Linked DNA regions of Homo sapiens: all the other regions are linked to region 1. The links are contacts of gene promoters, found by promoter capture Hi-C in human tissues and cell types (Jung and others, 2019). All regions are on one chromosome and are shown on one strand. Each heading gives the region's core, a stretch centred on a gene start or on the middle of the fragment in contact. The rest is flanking DNA. Distances are from core to core; before and after follow the strand shown. Region 1 holds the start of SAMD10 (sterile alpha motif domain containing 10). Region 2 overlaps ZGPAT (zinc finger CCCH-type and G-patch domain containing). Region 3 holds the start of PCMTD2 (protein-L-isoaspartate (D-aspartate) O-methyltransferase domain containing 2).

Region 1 (3,245 bases), core at 1-2,500:
CTGCTTCCCGAGTGCTCTGATGCAGTCCGGAGACCTGTCTGTGAGAGTGGGACCCATGGTCCCCTCCCTCTGAACCCATGGCCCCCTCCCTCTGAACCAGCCCAGCTGCCCGCCCTCGCCCCTGGTGCGCCCTGTCCGAGCAGAGCTGTACCCTGTCCAGTTGTGTAGAGCTTGTGTGTACTGGTTATGGGCACACCTGTCTGTGTGCGTCCTGTGCGCACACTGCTGCCCTACGCTTTTAGCACTCATATTCTTGAACCCCCATTCAGGCATCTGTCCCTCCAGTGGGACTAGAGACCCCACCCACGCCCGCCAACATGCCTTGGACATTCTGGTGAGGGCCACATCCTTAGCTCCTGGAGAGCTAATTGACGAAATAAATAACCGCAGCTGAGCTGTCGGGAACACGTCAGTACATGAACATGGCTGTCAAGCATGTGGGTGAATTCTGTGTGTGTGATTAGTGGGGTGTGTGCACAGAGGTCACGTGTGCTCGTGTTTTGGGTGCAAGTGCATGACTGTACTCTGTGCATGCATTTCTACATGTCTGTGTGCATCTCTGGTCCTCCTGCTGTAAGACATCCTCCAGAGCCCCTACATACACCCAGGGAGAGCACCCAGGCTCCTGGGCAGAGCAAGCCGAATAGCTGGTTGCAAGCCTGGCCTGCTGCTGCACCAGGCAACCACAGTTCCCTAGCCCAGCCCCATCTCAGCACTTCTCACTGGAGTCCTGGAGCAAACACACCGCTCCGGCCTGCTACAGCCTCCTTGGAGTTCCCCTCTGCCCCATCTCCAGGCAAGCCAAGCCCCTTTCAGTTACAGAGCACTGTACCGCCCCCTCTCCCCCGGGCACTGAGCCAGGTTCTGGGGCTGCAGAGGGAAGGGAGAACCACCCTGATGTTCACAGTGGGGTGGGCGGTAAGCAAGAGTCAAGCTGGTTTCTCCGGGGAAGCGGGTGCCTATTTGAAGGCGAGTAAAGACGTAGGAGACCGAGGAAAGTGTGTGGGAGGCGTTGACCTGCCCCTTGTCCTGGCCCCGGTAGGTAGAAGACCCCTGTGAGATGCCCCTCAGCCCACCCCCACGCACAGAGGGGCCCGACCTCAGAGGACGCCCGGCAGGTTCACGGGGACTCTCCTCCGCGGAGCCGTGCCCAGGGGCGCACGGACGCCCCTCGCCCTGGCGGACAGCCTTGGTGCACGCAGGCCCGCGCGCCGCCGACACACCTCGGAGCTCCCGGAGCGCGCCCGGCACACAGGGCTCGGCGGCAGGTGCCTCGTCGCGCACACTCGCGGGCCGCGGGGACCGGCTCGGGCGCGGGGCCGGCTGGGGCGGGGCGGGGCGGCGGCGCGCGTTCCCCGCCGGCCACACCGGCCGCCCTGCACTCGGCGAGGGGCGTGTGCGCGGGCCTGGCACCCGCGGGCCCCATGTTCACCGAGCTGAGGTCCAAGCTGAGCCCCCCGCGTGGCCGCGCCGGGGCCGTGCGCGCGGGCTTCGGGGAGCGCCGGGATGTGGACGGTGAGCGGGGCTGGATTGGGGAGCGGGGATTTCTCGGGCGGGGGTCTCAGGGACCCAGAGGCACGGGGGCGGGGCGGGACCCGGCGGGCTTCGAGCGGCGGTGGCTGGGGGTATTCGGCGGATGTCTCGGCTCAACGGGGTCCCGTAGCCTTTGTCCTGCTTTAGGGGGCAGCCAGCCTCAGGCCTTGGGGGTCAGCGCGCCCTTGGCTTGGGGTGAGGGGGTGTCAAGCCGGGGCGCCTGTGTCCAGGCTGGCACTACGCTCGGGTCACCTTTTCCTGCGCACGGGGAAAACCCTCCCCCGCTTTTGCAGTGGGGCCGAAAGGGGGCCGAGGTCACATCCCGCCTCGGTGCCCCCGCCCCATTTCCTTCTGGAATCCTGACGTTGGGGCGGGAGGGACCGGACCGACAGACCGCGGGACGGACGGAACTCCCTCCGGGAGTGCAGGCAGGAAATGGGCGGAGCCTGCTTGGCCGGGGCAGGTGCCGTGCGGGCTGAGGAGTCCGACGGGTTTCCCCGGACTGCCGCGCGCTTCTGCACCAGCCCCGCCGCTCGAGGCCCTGCAAAGCCCGGCGACCACGGCGCCTGTCCGCTGGAAGGCGCGGGCTTAGAATAAGCCTTTTCCCACAGCACTAGGGGCCACCTCGGGGCGGTGGCCCACTGAGCACACCCTCTGCTGACCCCAGACCTCAAATTTGGAGTCACCCAGGGGTCCGGTTCCTGAAAGTTGCAAGAATGGGGGCGGAAGGTGTTATGTCTCCTAAGTCTTACAGGCGTGGGAGGACGGGGAAGTAGGATGTGGTTTTCACCGATACTTAGACCTCCTAGACACATCCCCAACCCCTGCCCTGGGTGTGGAGTGGGTGGCTGAGTCTGAGGCCGGGAGGGTCTCTCACTCTAGGGTGGATGGGATGAGGGCCCTAGCGTGGGAACCTCACCTGCCCTGCTGAAGGCCTGGGTGCTAGGGTGCTGTAAAGACAGGGGCAGGCCTGTGCCCACCTTCTGTCTCCCCACAGGCTCTGTTCACTTGCAGATACCATACAGAGCCTTCATTCATTCATTCATTGACAATGAATGTGGGGTGCCCCTCTGTAACCAGACCTGGATCAAGACGCCTGCCTCCCCAGACTCAGGTCAGCAGTGCCCCCAGAGATGATGACAAAGCTCAGATGAAACACTTTAATGCAGTTACTGTGGGAAGAGGGAGCACAGAGCATCACCGTGGGTCCCCAAGCAATGGCTGCACCCCACATACCTGTGCTGACCCGCCCATATCCAATGGGTACCCACCATTCACATGGCCGGTGTTGTCCCGGGCTGCAGGCCCTGTGGGGGGCGGCACAGCTGGAGAGCCCAGCGCGTGTTTGCGGAGTGAGCCCTGCTTGTCAGTTGGCCCACAGTTCAGGCTGTCAATGAGTCATAGTCAGTGAGTCGGGCCCCAACACCAGATAGGGCTGTGTGAACTGGGTGCCTTCAGTGGCGATGGGCAAGCAGCATCCTCAGCCCGGTTTCCCCAGCACAGACGACCTCCCCGGACTCGGGATCTGCCTTTCCTCAAAGCAGGCCGTGTGTGCACTTCCTGGTCTGGTGTGGTGTGTGCAAGACTTGTGGGCCAGCCCAAGGCAAGGGTGAGGTCAGGGCTGTCCCAGGATAGCTCCTCTTGTCATATGTCTCAGGTTCCCTTCCCTAGAGGGCACATCCTCTGATCTAAGAATCCATCCTGCTCCCCTG
Region 2 (2,887 bases), core at 299-2,798, 260 kb after region 1:
AAAAAAAAAAGAAATTCTAAATGGGCTGGGCGTGGTGGCTCATGGTAATCCCAGCATTTTGGGAGGCCAGGACAGGCAGATCATGAGGTCATGAATTCGAGACCAGCCTGGCCAACATAGTGAAACCCTGTCTCTACTAAAAATACCAAAAAAATTGGCTGGGGGTGGTGGCAGGTGCCTGCAGTCTCAGCTACTTGGGAGGCTGAGGCAGGAAAATCACTCTAACCAGGGAGGCAGAGGTTGCAGTGATCTGAGACTGCACCATTGCACTCCAGCCTGGGCAACACAGTGAGACTTTGTCTCAAAAAAAAAAAAAAAAAATTCTAAATGAAGTTCTTCAGACTAAAAGGAAATGACACTAGACAGTAACTCAAATTCACAGGAAAGAAAAAGGGGCAAAAAAAAGAAAGGTAAAATATGGATGATACAAAAAAACAAGTATACTTTTTTTCTCTTTGAATTTCTTTCTTTTTTAAATAGAGATGGAGTCTCGCTATGTTGCCCAGGCTGGTGTTGAACTCCTGGCCTCAAGTGATCCTCCTGCCTTGGCCTCCCAAGGCTTTGGGATTACAGGCATGAACCACAGTGTCCAGATCTTAATTTCTTTTCTTTTCTTTTTTTTTTTTTTTTTAGGCAGAGTCTCGCTCTGTCATCTAGGCTGTAATGCAGTGGTGCGATCTTGCTCACTGCAACCTCCGCTTCCCAGGTTCAAGCGATTCTCTTGCCTCAGCCTCCCGAGTAGCTGGGATTACAGACACCCACCACCACACCCGGCTACTTTTTGTATTTTTAGTAGAGACGGGGTTTCACCATGTTGGCCAGGCTGGTCTTAAACTCCTGACCTCCGGTGATCCACTCACCTCAGCCTCCCAAAGTGCTGGGATTAGAGATAAAAGCCACCATTCCTAGTCCCTTTACTTCTGAGATAAGATCTGCACCCAGGCTGGAGTGCAGTGGCACAATCTCAGCTCACTGCAGCCTTGACTTCCCAGGCTCAAGTGATCCTCCCACCTTAGCTGGGATCCTCCCCCAAATAGCTGGGACTACAGGCGCGTGCCACCATGCCAGACTAATTTTTTGTAATTTTGGTGGAGATGGGTTTCGTCATGTTGCCCAGGCTGGTCTCCAACTCCCTGGCTCAGGCGATCTGCCCACCTCAGCCCCCAAAAGTGCTGGAGTTAAAGGCATAAGCCACTGCCTCCAGGCAACTTCTTTCAAAATACTTTTGAAGCAATAATTATAACGCTGAAGAGCTGAAGTTATAACATACATAAATGTATATATGGCAATAATACATGAAGGAGAAGAGGGGATGGAGCTATGTCAGAGGAGAAGGGAGGATGGAGCTATGTCAGAGGACAAGGGAGGATGGAACTATGTCAGAGGAGAAGGGAGGATGGAGCTATGTCAGAGGAGAAGGGAGGATGGAGCTATGTCAGAGGAGAAGGGAGGATGGAGCTATGTCAGAGGAGAAGGGAGGATGGAGCTATGTCAGAGGAGAAGGGAGGATGGAGCTATGTCAGAGGAGAAGGGAGGATGGAGCTATGCCAGAGGAGAAGGGAGGATGGAGCTGTGTCATAGGAGAAGGGAGGATGGAGCTGTGTCATAGGAGAAGGGAGGATGGAGCTGTGTCATAGGAGAAGGGAGGATGGAGCTGTGTCATAGGAGAAGGGAGGATGGAGCTGTGTCATAGGAGAAGGGAGGATGGAGCTATGCCAGAGGAGAAGGGAGGATGGAGCTGTGTCAGAGGAGAAGGGAGGATGGAGCTATGACACAGGAGAAGGGAGGATGGAGCTATGTCAGAGGAGAAGGGAGGATGGAGCTGTGTCATAGGAGAAGGGAGGATGGAGCTATGTCAGAGGAGAAGGGAGGATGGAGCTGTGTCATAGGAGAAGGGAGGATGGAGCTATGCCAGAGGAGAAGGGAGGACGTCATAGGAGGAGGGAGGATGGAACTATGTCAGAGGAAAAGGGAGGTTGGGACTGTGCTATAGGAAAATGGAGGGGGAACTATGTCATAGTACAACGGAAGTAGATCTATGTTATAGACACGTTGCCATACTTAGGCTCAGTGCAGTCGCTCACACCTGTAATCCCAGCACTTTGGGAGGCCAAGATGGGCGGATCACCTGAGGTCAGCAGTTCGAGACCAGCCTGACCAACATGGTGAAACCTCATCTCTACTAAAAATACAAAATTAGCCGGGTGTGGTGGGGGTGCCTGTAGTCCCAGCTACTCAGGAGGCTGAGGCAGGAGAATGGCGTGAACCTGGGAGGCGGAGGTTGCAGTGAGCCGAGATCACACCATTGCACTCCAGCCTGGGTGACAGAGTGAAACTCCATAAAAAAAAAAATGCTGTACTTTAAGTGTTAAGTTAGTAATAATCTGAAGTACATTGTGGTAAGTTAAAGATGTACATTGTCATCTCTAGAGCAACCACTAAGAAAATAACTTAAAACAGCATAGCTAAAAATTCAGCAACAGAGCTGGATATCACCAAAATGATGGAGTTGGCAGCTCCAAAGATCCGTCTCTCCAGCAAAGCAACTATTCTGCTGTCAAAACTGTCACAATAAACTTTTTTCTATTCAGCTGTCAAAACTGTCACAATAAACTTTTTTCTATTAAACTGTCAAAACCTCCCAATAAACTTTTCTGTAACTCTGGTGTCTACGAACCAGATGACTGCTCAATGAAGTAAGACCCTGCTAAATTTCAGGAGGACAGCTGGGCTATTTCTGCTCAGCCACTACTACCAGCTCACATGTAGCCATGGGGAAGGCAACCTGTATTTCTGATGTGGCTTGCTGGTGTCAGAAGGGATGATACAGACCTTTTCTCAAGGAATCCTGCTTATGCATTTGGATCTTTCTAGTGTCTCCCTGAAG
Region 3 (3,333 bases), core at 599-3,098, 280 kb before region 1:
ACCATCGATATGATCAGTCATGATGTCACCAAAAACACCGACAACAAAGCTCTTCGCCAAACCAAATCCTATCATTTTCACCCAGATTCTACAATCTGGTCAAATCCAATTTTTCAAAGTAAAAGTGTAGAATCATTTTTAGAACGCTGCACTCGATGATACTGTGCACATTGTCTGCTGTAATTAATCCTTAATATAATTCACTACTCTGTGGTAACTAGCAACAGTCCATAACAACCTGGCTGCTCCTTACAATGCGAACTGCCAGGGCACATGAAGAACACTTGCTGAGTGGCGACAGGCATGGGAAGGTCTCAGAACTGACACCTGAGTTGTGATTGTGGCTGTGTCAACACAAGCATGAAGCTATGGTAGTGGGGTTTTGGGAGGCGACATACGGAAGATCACATTCCAACTTGGATGTCACTTCTTTAGGGTAATATGGACAAAGTAATTCATTGTGGAAGATGAGTGGGGAAAAGGACCCAAAGCCACATCTCCTTTGGGCAGAATGATCAAACAAACACACAAACAGATTTCTCACCTTGAAAACCAGAACTCTTACAAGCAATGCAAAGGGACTTTTTTCAAATACAGATGGTCTCCGACTTCGGATGGTTCGACTTCAGGTTTAACGATGTGTTTACTGGGATGCGACCCCACCGTAAGCCGGGGAGCACCTATACTTGAAAGGCTGTCACATGTACACTATTAATGGGCCTAACAAAAGCCAGACCAGTGGTACATGTTGGAGACAATGCCTACTAAATACACAGAGAAGCTTTCTAACAAATGAAGTTGCAATGAATGAAAGGAGCTCTTGATAAGCCCAGCCAAGTTCCACTGGAGGTACGAGCTGGGGTGGCGCAGGGAGCAAGGCCCTGGATCGGTCACCTCTGAGGTCTCCTCTCATCACCTGAGTGTAGGGCTCTATTTCCCCCAAGCGTGGCCACAACAATTTCTGAGTTGCTTATAGGCACCTCAACTTCACTCATTCTTGAATGACAGTCTATCAAACGCCCAGATAGGAGCTGTTTAGCCATTCCCTTGAGAAGAAAAATGAAAACTATTCTAGTCACACGAGTAAAGAGGGGGTGGATAAAGAGGGCGTGGATATTTAGGTGACTTATTTGAGGTGCAACGCTGGAGCAAACATTCATTTAGGAGACACGTCCCTCTCACAAAAACAAAACAAAGGCCCGAAGCTCAGGCAAGTTCTCCTTCCTCCAACTAACAAAGATCTCTTTCCATGCGTGAATTGAAGTCCCAGTGCTCTGCTCCAATTCTTACTATCTCCAAGGCACGGGGCGGGGGGGCGCAATTATTTTTTTAAAAAATCCTGTCATCTTCTGAAAGGGTCCAAGGCAGACTTTGTTCTAAACCTTAGCTCTTGGCTTGCCTTGGAACTGCAAACGTTTCCCACTTGGGAAGTCAAAGACAAGCTGCAGGTCTGGACTAACCAGACCCAAGAGTGTGAGTGAGCAACGGGCACCGGGAGAGACCGACGGGAAACCGCGAGCGCTCGGAGAGAGAAACGCGGGACGCCCTGGAGGCCGCTGGGGGGAGGTGAGGGTGCCCGAGGTGGGGAGGAGCGACGCCCCCAGAGGAGAGCTCCGGGCGCAGGGGTGCCGGGGGTGGGGAAGGAGGAGGGAAGGGGCCGAGGGGACACACCACCCGCTCGCCGCAGGCCGGACCGAGGGGCGGCGGCGGCGGCGGCGGCTCTACCTCCAGGCTCGGCCGGCCGACGGGTTCGGACCGCCTGGGCTGCCACCTGCAGCTCCTCGGGCGCGTCCCTCGTGTGTCCGCGGCCGAGCAGCGCCGCTCCAACCTCGGCCGCCGTAAACATCCGCCGCCGCCGCCGCCGCCGCCGCCTCTGCGCCTGCGCACAACGGCCTGACTGCGCATGCGCCGCGGGCCTGGCACTTAAAGGGGTGATGGCGGCGCAGGGCGGGCCCCACTCCCCTGGGCTGCCTGCGTCCGCCCGCCCCGCTGAGAGCTCGCTGAGCCCTAGGCCGGGTCCGAGTCTCGCGGGCGCGCCGTCCGCGCAGTGCTCAGCCAGGACGGACCCCGCACGGGCTGCCTCAGAAGCCCTCCCTAAGGGTCACCTGAGACGCCTTTGCTGACCCACGGCTGGGGGCGTTCCGCATCTCCAGGGTGCCCTGCGGCTGCTGACTCGGGGCCGGCGCTGCCCTCGGGCGGCCTCCCAGCACCAAGCACAGCCGCCCTGGGACCCCCGCCCTGCCACGCGGACGGCCACCCGGCCCTGGGGCCCTCCTACCCAGCCGGCTTTGTGAAATCAGCTGTGAAAGGAAGATATCCTGGGCCCCCAAGATCACTAAGGAAAACTCCAGCAGGAAACTGCTTAGGGCAGGCCTGCTTCCCATTCCATTCAAAGTCACTCCTCTGCTCACTTAGATAGATACATATCTGATTTGCCTCCTTTGAAAAGGCAAATGAGAAACTCAAAAGAATTTAACCGTTGGTGTCTCACCTATCTGTGGCCTGGACGCTCCCTCCCCGCTTGGAGTCTTCCTGCCTTTGCTTCAAGTTGTCCCGTCTTTCCAGACCGAACCGATGTGCTTCTTACATGTATCGATGGATGTATCCTGTCTCCCTAAATGTATAAAACCAAGCTGTGCCCCGACCACCTTGGGCACATGTCAGGACTTCCTGAGGCTGTGTCACGGGCGCGTCCTCACCCTTGGCAAAATAAACTTTGTAAATTAACTGAGACCTGTCTCCCATTTTCTGGGTTCACACAGCCCATTGCCCAAACTTCGCGTGGGGCTTTGCAGATAGGCTGTAGCTGCAGAACCCTTTCTTCAAGCACAGCCATGCAAGCCGCCTCATATGTGCAAGTGCCAGCGTCGCTGGGGCGGACGAGTGGGCCTGGGTCTCCGGTTCCCGCCTCCCTCCTAACTCGGCATTCCTCCCCAGACCCTGGAGCTCCACTTAGGAGCAGAGTTTGAAAACCAAAGGCCGGTGCCTTCACCACGTTATGTGGTCCCAGGGAGACCTCACTTCTCTTGTTGATCCATGGTCCTGGATCCACGGACCTGAGGTGGCCCACCACCTCATGACCTTCATGGGGCTCTCAGTGTCCTTCCACCTGAGAGCTTGTGGTTATTTGTGACTGTTTCAAATTACAGAAGCCCTGGAGTCATCCTTGACTCTCTTCCTACTGCCAGGGGACACGTCCTCCATACATCCCTCCTTGCCCTGTCCCAGCTCCCCTCACCTCTCCCCACCCCTCCCACCATTCCCCTGGGCTCTGGCGAGTGGTCCTCCTAAAACAGGTGATCACATCACTGCTGTCTTCAGACACTCCCTTTG

Evidence for each region. The method cuts DNA at HindIII sites, captures the fragments that hold promoters and counts their contacts. A contact is called where the count stands out against the background at its distance.
Region 2: a fragment that was not itself captured here is called in contact with the fragment with the promoter of SAMD10 in region 1 in 6 of the 25 tissues and cell types used here (H1 embryonic stem cells, IMR-90 fibroblasts, dorsolateral prefrontal cortex and 3 more).
Region 3: the fragment with the promoter of PCMTD2 here is called in contact with the fragment with the promoter of SAMD10 in region 1 in 3 of the 25 tissues and cell types used here (dorsolateral prefrontal cortex, heart right ventricle and thymus).

The regions. Positions count from the first base shown.
Region 1 is chr20:63,977,647-63,980,891 of GRCh38, reverse strand. SAMD10 (sterile alpha motif domain containing 10) reads left to right here and starts at 1,250. Exons shown (of 5, transcript NM_080621.5): 1 at 1,250-1,515. The coding sequence starts at 1,425. RefSeq lists enhancers at 646-705, 1,301-1,816, 1,802-2,096 and a silencer at 1,136-1,455. The HindIII fragment of the contact is 26,934 bases long and covers 1-3,245 here.
Region 2 is chr20:63,722,108-63,724,994 of GRCh38, reverse strand. The region is part of intron 2 of ZGPAT (zinc finger CCCH-type and G-patch domain containing); the gene reads right to left. Among named protein-coding and RNA genes, the nearest start is that of LIME1, 13 kb to the left of the region's middle. The HindIII fragment of the contact is 9,604 bases long and covers 1-2,887 here.
Region 3 is chr20:64,254,263-64,257,595 of GRCh38, reverse strand. It overlaps PCMTD2 (protein-L-isoaspartate (D-aspartate) O-methyltransferase domain containing 2), which reads right to left and starts at 1,848. Exons shown (of 6, transcript NM_018257.3): 1 at 1,726-1,848. The HindIII fragment of the contact is 11,329 bases long and covers 1-3,333 here.